Linked DNA regions of Homo sapiens: regions 1 and 3 are each linked to region 2. Evidence: promoter capture Hi-C in 16 types of primary human blood cells and fetal thymus (Javierre and others, 2016). All regions are on one chromosome and are shown on one strand. The core of a region is centred on a gene start or on the middle of the fragment in contact, and the rest is flanking DNA. Distances in the headings are between cores, read along the strand shown.

The links. Contacts are between HindIII fragments. The CHiCAGO score rates a contact against its expected background, and 5 or more counts as called.
Region 1: a contact is called between a fragment that was not itself captured here and the fragment with the promoter of ARAP1-AS2 in region 2, in 3 of 17 cell types (activated CD4 T cells, neutrophils and fetal thymus). The highest score is 7.7, in activated CD4 T cells.
Region 3: a fragment that was not itself captured here is called in contact with the fragment with the promoter of ARAP1-AS2 in region 2 in 1 of 17 cell types (erythroblasts); the score reaches 6.1 in erythroblasts.

Annotation. Positions count from the first base shown.
Region 1 is chr11:73,190,819-73,194,690 of GRCh38, reverse strand. No RefSeq gene overlaps it. Among named protein-coding and RNA genes, the nearest start is that of IUR1, 9.9 kb to the right of the region's middle. The HindIII fragment of the contact is 1,118 bases long and covers 1,910-3,027 here.
Region 2 is chr11:72,697,703-72,701,767 of GRCh38, reverse strand. It overlaps ARAP1-AS2 (ARAP1 antisense RNA 2), which reads right to left and starts at 1,294. Exons shown (of 2, transcript NR_146780.1): 1 at 1,215-1,294. It overlaps ARAP1 (ArfGAP with RhoGAP domain, ankyrin repeat and PH domain 1), which reads left to right. Exons shown (of 35, transcript NM_001040118.3): 16 at 1-119; 17 at 2,216-2,351; 18 at 2,661-2,763; 19 at 3,662-3,857. RefSeq lists a silencer at 649-748. The HindIII fragment of the contact is 37,247 bases long and covers 1-4,065 here.
Region 3 is chr11:73,159,499-73,163,632 of GRCh38, reverse strand. It overlaps IUR1 (imatinib upregulated ABL suppressing lncRNA 1), which reads left to right. Exons shown (of 4, transcript XR_950294.3): 3 at 962-1,093. Among named protein-coding and RNA genes, the nearest start is that of FCHSD2, 19 kb to the right of the region's middle. The HindIII fragment of the contact is 1,325 bases long and covers 1,063-2,387 here.

The DNA of each region.
Region 1 (3,872 bases), core at 1,219-3,718, 490 kb before region 2:
GGCAAAGTCTGCTGCAGTTCACAGAGAAGCAACAGCTTTGATGGCATCTGCAACCTAAGTCATAAAGATCAAAGTGGGATAAAGCTGGAGTGAGTTTCTGAGTTCCAAAAATAAGTAACATCTCAGAGGTTACTTTAAAAAATAGAGGCAGCTCAGTGCAACAGAAGGAGCTTGAGCCTCAGCATTAGACAAATCTGAGTTAAAATCCTGGCTTAGCCACTGTAGCACCTACACTTCCCAAGCCTCAGTTTCTTCTTTAATCTGGGCACTGGAGATGGTGTCTGTAGGGGGGCCTGGCTCATTTAGCCAGGGCTTAGTGAAGGGTAGGTAGGCATGGCCCTGTCACAGTCATTGCGGGGTCCCCGACCACAGCTGTGAAGGGGTCTGGACAAGCAGATGCTAAACGCCACTGGGACCTGCATACAGGGAGAAAGTCACTCATCTCTTCTAATACTGGAAAGAGATTGTGACTACCTACTAAAATTGCCCCAAGCAACATTCTATGCAGAGGAGAAAGAACAATGTGGTGTGACTAGTCCTTCCAGCCTCAGTGGGACAGCCACACAGTATTTCCCATCTATCAGCTCTCTATCAATTCATCTCCTGTGTCAGGTTATTGGCCAGGGCAAGAGGGAATGAGAGGAGAGGAAGATCCAGTCCCTGACCCCTGGAAATGCAGACTCTTGCAGGGCCAGATTCTCATGAGCAATGGCATGCCATGATGCCAAGCCTCACCAGGTCCAGGCCACGGCCGGAGGTGCCGAGTTCAGGCTGTTTGCATGGTGACCTCTCAGACTTAGTCAGCGTCCCCACCATCCCCAGCTTTAGTTGCATCATTGCACTCTCACTTATGCCACTAATATTCACTGAAGCCTGCTCTGTGGTAGGGCCCGAGTACAACAGAACGTGTCCTCTGCCTGCATAAAGCCTCAGTGACATGGACCAGTTGGTCCCAGTGAAAGGGCGATTCATTCTCTCCTGTTTTGTGATTGTGTGTCTGCCTCCCCACCAGACCGTGTGCTCCATGGAGCAGGGGCTGTGCCTGTCCCGATCACTGTCGGCTCCACTGTCCTAATCACTGCCCAGAGTCTGCTCCAAAGCCTCCTCCAGAGAGGGTGCTCCATTGATTGAACAGCTCCATGAGGAGGAGGGTGACTGACAGCACTCTGGGAACCCAGAGGAGGAAGTCACAACGCTAAAGGATAGCCAAGAAAGGGCTCCTGGCAGAGGCTGTGGGTAAAGTTTGCATAGGATGGAAAGAGGCAGGGCTGGAACAAGCAAGGGTATGGCAGTAGGAATGAGGTTGAGCTTTGCAGGAGTTCTGGGGAAGAGAGGTGGCGAGGTTAGCTGAGTGCAGGCCAGGAAGAGTTCCGGTGCTGCCTCTTGGGGTCTTGGGGTCTCTCTGCCTCTCTACATAGCTCTTAGTTTCCCCTAACCCCAGGGTTCTCACTCCCTCATCCCCCTACCTTCCAACAAATCAAGAAGTTCATGGATAAGGGACCCTGAGGGCAGCAAGGGAGGTGGTGAGAGCTCCAGTTGTCTGAGTCTAAGACCTTCCTCTGATGAAGTCCCAGCTCCAATTACCTTTCCCACCTAGCATGGCCGGAGAAAGTACAAGACGCCCAGTCAAATTTGAATTTCTGATAAACAGTGAAAAATTCTTTAACATAACGGATATTTGGGACATGTGCTTATACTAAAAAGTTATTCATTGCTAATCTGAAATTCAAATTTAACAACATATCCTGTATTGACATTTGCTAAACCTTGCAAACCCTCCCTTGACCCCCGCTTTTCAGCATCTGTCATTCACCCCTGCCCTGAGCCCCCAGGAACCATCAGAGGTTGTGGGCCTCCTGCAACATACTCAACGAAACAGAAATTCAGAGCTGCTAGGAACACTGAAGCTTATCTAGCCCCATTGCTCCCCACTATAAGTGGACTAGGAGGCCGAGGCCCAGAGGAAGCAGGCACTGGCAGGTCCTTGGGCACCTCTCAACAACTTGACTGGAACTTGGGCCTTCATGACAGCAGGAGGACCCTTGGCTGGGGGCTTCTTAGGAAAGGCCAGGGCCCTCCTATTCATCATTCTGGGGCAAGGCAAGGCAGGGAGTCTCCAGGTTTCTGCCCTGACCCTGGGCTGTGGTTTCCTGGATCTTGACACCCCCAAGTGAGTCACCTCCACCTCCCAGGCTACATCTGACTCAGTGCCAAGGCCCTGGGGCTCCTCAGCTCTTACCTGGCTCCCAGGTTGGAGGAGCCAAGTGGGCAGGTTGGGGTGGCTCTTGGGCAGGACTTTGTGGGAGGGACTAGACCTTGTGAGAGGCTCATTTCCCCACAGTCCTCCTCAGGCCCTGGTAATGGTCCAGTCAAGGGCAGCCCTCAGAAACTCCCAATGGTGCGGCTGGGTGCAGTGGCTCACACCTGTAATCCCAGCACCTTGGGAGGCAGAAGCGGGCAGATCACTTGGGGTCAGGAGTTCAAGACGAGCCTGGCCAACATGGTGAAACCCCGTCTCTACTAAAAATACAAAAGTTATCTGGGTGTGGTGACGGGAGCCTGTAATCCCAGCTACTTGGGAGGCTGAGGCAGGAGAATTGCTTGAACTCGGGAGGTGGAGGTTGCAGTGAGCCAAGTTCGCACCACTGCACTTTAGCCTGGGTGACAGAGTGAGACTCTGTCTCAAAAAAAAAAAAAAAAAAAAAAAAAATAGGAACTCCCAGTGGTGCAGCTAGAGCTGAGGAGAAGGTGGAGTGCCTGGTGGCAGGCGGGGTGGGGGTACATGGGTCGGGGGTAGGGACATAGATTTAATTAAAATCACTCAGCCCATCAGGCCTGCAGGGGTCTTCTGTCAAGTGGCCATTCCCCGCTCCCCACTGAAGGTGCCCATCCCTCTGGGCTCTGTTTCTTCCTCTCATCTTTCCATTGTTATGTTATGTATTAGTTTGCTTATTGTCAATGTCTAGTTAGAACATAAATCCTGTTCACTGTTTCAAGATCATAAAACAGTACCTGGCTCAACAAGCTTTGTGGAAATTGCCCTTACTGCATTTCACCTTGTGTGGAACATGGCCCCTGATGCCACAGTCCCCCACCCACCCATGAGCATCTCAGCATCTGCCAGGAGACTGGCTGTGTGCAGAGCTTTGTGTTCCCCCGGTCCAGGTTCCAGTTCCCTCCTCTGATTACAGCCCAGCCTGGGTCCTGGGACTGAGAAAGTAAAAGCACAGGGTTGGGGCAGACTGACAGACAGTGGGTTTAGGGTGCTGCTCAGGGTGGGGCTCTCATCTGCCTGCCCCAGTGCTTCCACCCGAACCACACAAGCCCACAGCACCTAGACGTGGCCCAGGAGCTCAATCCCAGGCCCACACGGAGCTGACCCCTCCCAGCCAGTCGGGCTGAGGGTACAGCACTGAGCCAGAAGCTGATGACCTGTCTGCCTTGACTTGTGACCTGCCAGATCCCTAGGCCTTGCCGGGCCTGGCTCTGTCTGTCTGTACAATGATGGTTCTGGGCTGACTGGTCTCTGAGGCTTGCCAGCTCAGCCCACCCATGGCTTTTTCCTACCCCTTATCTACCTCTAAACCTCTGTGCCAGCCACTCCTGCATTACCCTGGGGGTACTCCTGAGCCAAGGATCTTAGACCCTCCCCTTCACCCTAGTCAGACCCTTTGCTGACCCTTCTCTGGGACCCAAGTCCTGGTCCTATCTGTCTTGGGGACCATAGGCAGTTGGTGCCAAAGACTGTCCCCAGGATACTTGGGATACTTTAAAGTCATCCAGTAAAATGTCATTCAGGGAAAATCTGTCCACATTTACCTGGCTCCAGCCCTCTAATCAATCCTCCTTTGGGACGCCTGCTCCCCTGACAT
Region 2 (4,065 bases), core at 45-2,544:
CTCGATGAAGCCCCTGGAAAAGCACTACTCAGTTGTCCTGCCGACCGTGAGCCACAGTGGCTTCCTCTACAAGACTGCCTCTGCCGGCAAGCTGCTACAGGACCGCCGGGCCCGGGAAGGTGGGTGCCACCCCAGACTCTGCTTTAGCCCATGGCATCTGGTCACGGCTGCAGGGCTAGGGAAGCCAGGGCTGGCCAGACTGGTGGACTCTGGCAGAGTCACCCTAGAGGGCTTCCTGGATATAGTCTGTGGTACACAGTAGGTACTTCCTAAATGATCCTGGTGGGAGTGGGGGTAGTGCATGACACTGCAGAGCAGGTCAGTGCCAGAGTTTCTTTGGACTAAATGAGCCTTTATTGAGCCCCTACTGGATATGGGCTCTGCTGAGCATCTGGTAGTAAGAGCCTGTGGCTGGTAGGGAGTTTGAGGACTGAACGAAAGCCCTATCCATCTGATCTCAGCCTTCCATTCACTCCCCAACTCAGAAGAAAATCCACAAGAGCCCGCACAGTTGGCCACCACCCCCATTACCTCTCTGAACCACCCCCCTAATCACTCTGCCGGTCTCCTCACTGTTTCTCAGACACGTCGTCACCTACCAGGATCTTTGCCTGTGCTGTTCCCTCTGCCTGAAATGCATTCCCCCAGGTATCTGCATGGCCAGTCCCTCACTTCCGTCAGGTCTCTGTTTCAGTATCACTCCTGCAGAGATGTCATCTCTGACTACCTTATGCAAAATAGCACCCCCCATCTCTCCCTTTACCCTTTTGAGATGGAGTTTCGCTCTTGTTGCCCAGGCTGGAGTGCAATGGCGCGATCTTGGCTCACCGCAACCTCTGCCTCCCGGGTTCAAGCAATTCTCCTGCCTCAGCCTCCCGAGTAGCTGGGATTACAGGCATGCGCCATCATGCCTGGCTAATTTAGTTAGTAGAGATGGGGTTTCACCATGTTGGTCAGGTTGGTCTCAAACTCCCGACCTCAGGTGATCTGCCCGCCTTGGCCTCCCAAAGTACTGGGATTACAGGCGTGAGTCACCACGCCTGGCTACCCTGCATTTTCTTCACACCACTTACCTGGTACTCATTTGTCCATTAATGTACTTATCTATAGATTCTCTGTACCCCACTGGGACATAAACTCCTTTTGGCCACCACTGCCTGTAGCCCCCAGATCCTAGAACAGTGGCTAGCACACAGTGGGCACTTGGCAAATACCTGCAGAATGAAGGATGACTCAGGCAGAGCTGGTGCTCCTGGAGGGAGCCCACCTGCGGGGACAGGCCTGAGGACACATTGCTCTCAAAGAGCACATGTCAGGCCCTCACAGACAGGATGAGAGACAGAGTCTGCTGTGGGAACATTGTGAGGTCATTGCTGACAACATCCCTCAGCACCTCCTGCATGCTTTCCTACGGGGACAAAGCCCTCCAACTCCCAAAGAGATTTCTTTGGAACTCCATGCTGTTCACAACCTCATTGCCCCAGGTCTGCCTCCCTCTGCCTGACAATGTCATTTATGTAACAACTGCCTGAGTCATCCTTTTTGCCCTGGATGCCAGGAAGCTCTGAGCCACTGTAAAGCTCAGTGCTGTGAACGGTACAAGCCTGCATGGCCATGACAGCCTATCCTTTCCATTACCTTTCCTGGTCCAGATTCCCATTTCTGTTTCTTTTATGGGACCTTGCCAGTCCTTCAGAGCCATTGTAGCAGGAGGCAGAGTACAGAGTGATAGATGCTTCTGGAAAAGGAGGTTGGGGCATAGAAGGCTTCCTGTGACATTCAGGTGGTGGGTAGAGGGGACAAGGTTTGCAAAAGCTGGGAGTGCTGGGTAGGGATGTGTGTGTCCAGGAGTGACAGAGAGGCAGCTGGAGAGACGGGCAGGGGTAGACCTGGCAGGGCCTTGAATGGCAGGCTGAGGGGCACAGAGTCTGTCCTGAGGACCATGGAATGGTTTTGGTTAGAGGAAGGATGGGGTCTGATTTTAGCTAGATCACTCTGGGATTTTGGAAGGGGCTGCTGCAGAGGCCTGGGGGAGCGGATGACTTGTGGGCTGGCTAGCGTGGTGGGGATGCAGAGAGGTGGATGGATTTAGGGAAAACTTGAGAGAATGAAGAGCTCATGGGTCAGATGGGAGCAGGAGCCCCGGGAGGATGCAGAGGTGGTTTTCAGGTGGTGGGGGGCTCCCTGATGGCTCCCCTGCCCAAATTCTCCCCAGAGTTCAGCCGGCGCTGGTGTGTCCTTGGTGACGGGGTCCTGAGCTACTTTGAGAATGAGCGGGCAGTGACCCCCAATGGAGAGATTCGGGCCAGCGAGATTGTGTGCCTGGCAGTGCCCCCTCCTGACACCCATGGGTGAGTACTCCTGGGCAAATCAGACTGTGGTTGCTATAAGGTACAATCCCCCACTGGGGAGACAGGGAAATAGACCCAGAGAAGGGGAGGACCTCCGCAGAGTCACACAGCAAACGGAGGCTGCACAAGGGCCGACTCCAGTCTCTTGAGGCCCCAGCCCAAGACTTTTCCACCACCTCTTAGGGGACCAGAATAAGGACAAGCGCCAAGGCAGTGCGGAGGGGGCAGAGGATGGCGGTTGATGGTGCGGGTTGGGGGTGGGCCCGTGCTGGATGAGGTGGGCCTGAGTCCTGGCCTGTGTATTTGCAGCTTTGAGCACACCTTTGAGGTGTACACGGAGGGAGAACGGCTGTACCTGTTTGGGCTGGAGAGTGCGGAGCAGGCTCATGAGTGGGTCAAGTGTATTGCTAAGGTGAGCCTGGGGTAGCAGGGTGGGTGTAAGGGTGTCTGACTGGGGAAGGTGGGGCCTCCTGGCCAATCCCATGTATCCCAGCTCCCCCGTCTAGAGAGCAGAAGCTAGATGCAGGGCAGCAGACATGGAGCGGGCCTGTCCCACCAAGAGCCTACTGTAATCTGCAGCCCTCTGCGGAGTTGGTCAGACCTATCCTAGCTCTGCAGAAGAAGGGCTGTGGGCCTTGCACTCCATAGGTGCTCAATAAGTGTTTAACAGTGAATGACAGTCAGAGCCATCTTAGGATGGACAGTGCGGCCTCCAGAGGGGGTGTGCTCCTCGTTCCTGGAGGCGAGCAAGCAGAGGCTGGAGGGAAGAGGCAGGGAGGCCACCGGGAGAGCTCTGCCTCGGGGACTAGAGCCAGGTGCCTGTGGGGTCCCCTGTGCTGTGAGAGCCTGTGACTTTTTATCATTCACTTCTCCGTTGATCAGTTGTCTTGTGCGCCTCCTGAGAGTCAGCCCTCGGAGACCTGGGACCCAGATGAACCAGGCTTAGTCCTAGCTCTTCAGTAGCACCCATGTGGGTGGGGGAGACAGCTCCCCTGCGGGTGTAGTTCAGGCGGCAGCAGCAGTGTAACCAGTGCCACAACAGAGGGCAAGAATGCTTTGGTGCTGTGGGGGCCCAGAGAAGGGCCCTCCAGAAGGTGTCTGGGAAGGCTTTCCAGAGGCGGGCACATCTGAGTGGGTATGAAGTGGGGCATGGTACCCAAGTTCCATCACTGGGCTTGGTTCTGCCTTGGGGAAGAGAAGAGAAGGCAGCTGGGTGGGAAGAGGGCATGTGCCTGTAAGCCAAGGAGCTGGGGCATTGGGGCAGGCAGTGCCGTTGGCTGATGCTGTCTCCCCCGGCGCCTCTCTGCCAGGCATTCGTGCCTCCCCTAGCCGAGGATCTGCTGGCCCGGGATTTTGAGCGGCTGGGACGCCTACCCTACAAAGCTGGCCTGAGCCTACAGCGGGCCCAGGAGGGCTGGTTCTCTCTCAGTGGCTCGGAGCTCCGTGCTGTCTTCCCGGAGGGGCCCTGCGAAGAGCCGCTGCAACTACGGAAACTGCAGGAGCTTTGTGCGTGGACCAGACCTGGGCCCCCAGCCTCCAGGGCACCCTATCCTGGGCTCCCAGGCCCCCAGCCCTTGCCTGGAAATCTGAACTCTGCCTGGCCTGGCCAGAGCCGCCATCCTGCCCTCTCATGTCCTTGGGGTGCATCTCAGCCACCCCATACATTGGTGGGCGGGTCTCAAGGGTGTGTGTGTGCTCACAGAGGGAGGGAGCA
Region 3 (4,134 bases), core at 476-2,975, 460 kb before region 2:
CAGTGCTCCTAATGGGGAACAGAGGAACCTGGACCCAGGCTGGATAAGCTTTGTAGGGACAGTGAACAGGAAATAGCCTGAGTACTTGAGTACTATCATGGGCTGTAGACATAGGCAAGGGGCCATGGTGGAATCCTGAAGATGAGGAGCGGCTCTTGAAGGGGACCCACGAAGGAAACCTAAGTAAGGAAAGAGGCCCAGAGACTTTCCCTCCCATTCCCCAGGGTTGTCTTGAGCTGGCTTGGGTGCAAAAAGGAATAATATACTTTCCTGGTCCCCCTCATCCTGCCCCACCTCTGGAACTAGAGAACCAAATAACTTGAGAACTGCATGTAACTTGTGTGGTCCCTCCACCAGCTTAAGGTAAAAACTATGGCCAAATTTTTTCCCCATTAATTGCTTGAGCTCCACAAGATTTTATCAGCAGGAAGTTCAATCTGGCCCTCTGGAGGCCTTCCCCCATGTCACAGGAGTGCTCAAAACCCACAGGGACTACACTAGCTCCTTTCCAACAAAGGCACTCTTGAGTCCCAGTCTTGCTCCATCTTACTGTTCAGAGTCCCAGCAGCTGTGAACACATGACCCCCAAATCCAAGCTTTCATTCACACTCCTGAGCTCCAGCAAGTTTCACCAGGAGGAAGGTCCAGAGGGGCTTCTAGGTCCTCAGCCCCAGAGTTAAGCCTGGCCACCAGTCCAAGGCTCCTTCCTACACCACTGGGGGCTCAGGGGTTCTTTCCTTCCAACAAGTGGGGCTCACTGGGGATGGTCATCTTAGCAGCCAGATAACTTTGAACCTCACAAGGAAAGTGACTGGACCTTCTTCCATTTGTGCCCTGGGGCTCCTTTGTCAACGTCTCACTCCTCCCAAATATGTTGCCTTTTTCTTCAGCTCTGCATCCCATTTGATGTTAGGAGAGGCAGCCTTTGTTGGGCCACAAAAGGTCCTGTTTTGTCTCCCAGGTGCTACTTACATCTGATAAACTCAAGTGGTGGACAGAACAGAGAGGGCCTCCTCCAAGGTGACTTGCTAAGTCCTCCCCTAACGACGAAATAGAGAAGCTTCCTGCCCCTGTTACACATGGCCTCCTCCCGGTAAGTATCCCAGAAAGGAAGTGACTTCAGTGACCATTAGTCAGGGACTTTTATACTATGCCACTGGGTTCCTCAGAAAAGACCTCTGTGTGGGGCAAGTCAGGGAGAGGGAGACCAAGAGAAAGTGCCCTCTACACACGAGCACCCCCTCAATACACATACACGCATGCACGCACACGCACGTGCATAGTTATCAGCCCCATGCGACCTTACCTGCCCTTCTTGCCTCCAGTTAACCACTATCAACTCCTCACCAAAGCCTTCATGCAGTCTTTGGGTAACTTTTCCTCTGATTAAAGAACCCTGCAGCTAAAATACGGTTTTTGTTTTGTTTTGTTTTGCTTTGTTTTTTATTTAGAGACAGGGTCTTGCTCTGTCATCCAGGCTGGAGTGTAGTGGTGTAATCATAGCTTACTACAGCTTTGAACTTCTGGGCTCAAGTGATCCTCAGCCTCCCAAGAAGCTGGAACTACAAATGTGCACCACTGTGCCTGGCTAATTTTTTCTTAAATTATTTTGTTGTTGTTGTTGTATAGACAGGAGTCTGCTTAGGCTGGTCTCGAACTCCTGAGCTAAAGCAATCCTCTGCCTTGGACTCCCAAAGCATTGGGATTACAGGCACGAACCACTGCACCTGGTCAAATATGTTTTTTGAAAAAAAATCTCCAGGCCAACCACAATGAGATACCACTTCACACCCATTATGATGGATATAACTTTTTGTTAAAAGGAAAATTACAAGTGTTTGCAAGGATGTAGGAAAATTGGAACCCTAGTGCACTGCTCATAGAAATGTAAAATGGTGTAACCACTGTGGAAAACAGTTTGTTGGTTCCTTTAGAAGTGAAACATTGAGCTACCAAGTTGATCCAGCAATTTCCCTTCTAGGTCTATATCCCCCAAAATGGAAAGCAGAGACTTAAGCAGATACTTATATACCAATGTTCACAGCAGGATTATTCTCAATAGCCAAAAAGTGGAAATAACCCAATTGTCCATCAACAGATGAATGGCTAAACAAAATGTATACCCATAAGGTGAAATATTATTCAACTTTTAAAAAGGAATGCAGTACTGACACATGTACAACATGGATGAATCCTGAAAACATTATGAAAGAAGCCAGATACACACAAAAAACAAGTATTGTATGATCCCACTTATATGAGGTACCTAGAAAAGGCAAATTCATAGACCAAAAGCAGAATAAGAGGATTATCAGGGGTAGGAGGAAGGGGAATGGGGAGTTAATGTTTAATAATTACAGAGTTTCTGTTTGGGATGATGAAAAGCTTTGGAAATGGGCTGGGCGCAGTGGCTTACACCTGTAATCCCACCACTTTGGGAGGCTGAGGAGGGCAGATCACCTGAAGTCAGGAGTTCAAGACCAGCTTGACCAACATGGTGAAACCCATCTCTACAAAAATACAAAAAAATTAGAGGGGCATGATGGCGGGTGCCTGTAATTCCAGCTACTCAGGAGGCTGAGGCAGAAGAATTGCTTGAACCTGGGAGGCGGAGGTTGCAGTGAGCCATCATGCCATTGCACTCCAGCCTGTGCAACTGAGCAAGACTCCGTCTCAAAAAAAAAAGCTTTGGAAATGGATAGTGGAGCACAACATTGTGTATGTACTTAATGACACTGCATTGTACATCATTGTACATCTAAAATAGTTAAAATTGTAATTTTTATATTCCGCGTATATTTTTATCACATACACACAATGCCCATGCCACCTTTCTCTGCCTCAAGCAGAGGCAAAGCTTTCCATGGAGCTTTCTCCCTCCTTGGCCGAGCAGTTAGATGGGACGAGAGACACGGGAGCACCCAGCCAGCACCTGCACACAGGAGCAGTCTCTTCCACTTCATCTGCCTACAGACTGTCCTGACCAGACGAGCCCTTAGTGTTTACAGAGTCCACCTCTTCATCGTACAGACGGGAGTGTGATATGCCCAAAGTCATATACTTTGGTGACTCACTGCCCCATGCTCTCTCTCTCCTGGGCTGGTATGCTGGGAACAGACAACTTTGGGGCTAGGCAGGGTTTCTCTGGGAGGTGATGACATATGACCTCTGGCCTCTGAAGGCTCCTCAACTGGGCTAGGGTGGGGACCAGGATACTGAGAGCTAGGATGGTCTCACACCCAGATGAAGACATAGCCACCTCCACCTAGATGTGATGGGGACACCCCACCTACTCCCCAAGCATTTCCTTAGTCCCATTCCTCCCTCCCATCCTGCCCTGTCCTCCCATGTGACATCACTCCTCTGGCCTGTGTCCCCACAAGACTCCGTAGGGTAGAGAACGACAAGATAGGACAAACTGATAGGCCTGGATGTAGGGTGCCCAGATTAGTTTATCTGTTCAGCAAACTGTCCTTTGCAGGAAAAGCCTGCCCCCGGTGCTGCTGAGCATCGACTTGGAGGGCAGGCATGTCTGAGCCCTGAGGTCAGGAGAAAACTTCCTACTACTCCAGGTGCTTTTCCAGGTCTAGAATTTCTTGGCCAAGGGACAGAGCTTCAAATCATTTCCCAGCAAAGCGAGAAAGATGTCATGTCCACAATGTCTGAATTAACAAAGGCAGCTGGGAGCCAGGAGGGAGAGATCAACAGAAAACAGTTAAGATGGATCAGTGCAGGGACAGAGGATAGTACAGATGGCAGGTTGGATAAAGGTCCTGAGCCTGCCTGGAATGGGGGATCTGGGAGAGCTTCCTGACAGAGGGAACTCCTAATCTGAATTCTAGGTAATCTATAGGAGTTAGGCAGGCCCAAAGGATGGGAGCTGAGGAAGGTCTAGTCAGTGGGGTTGTTCTGGCATTGACTGGGGGCCCTGTTCCCTGAGACCCCAGTGTGAGCTGGAATGGGGGAGGGGGTTATAGGAGAAGGTTGCTCTAGGTTCCTGGCAGCGCTATGGGGTAGGAGGGTGGATGGCTGACAGTGAATCTTAGAGGAGAATCCCACACAGGTGAGGGGTGGGTTCCCTGATCCCCCACTATCCTGGGAGGAGCCCTCCTGGCCTGGGGAGGTAGGTCTCAG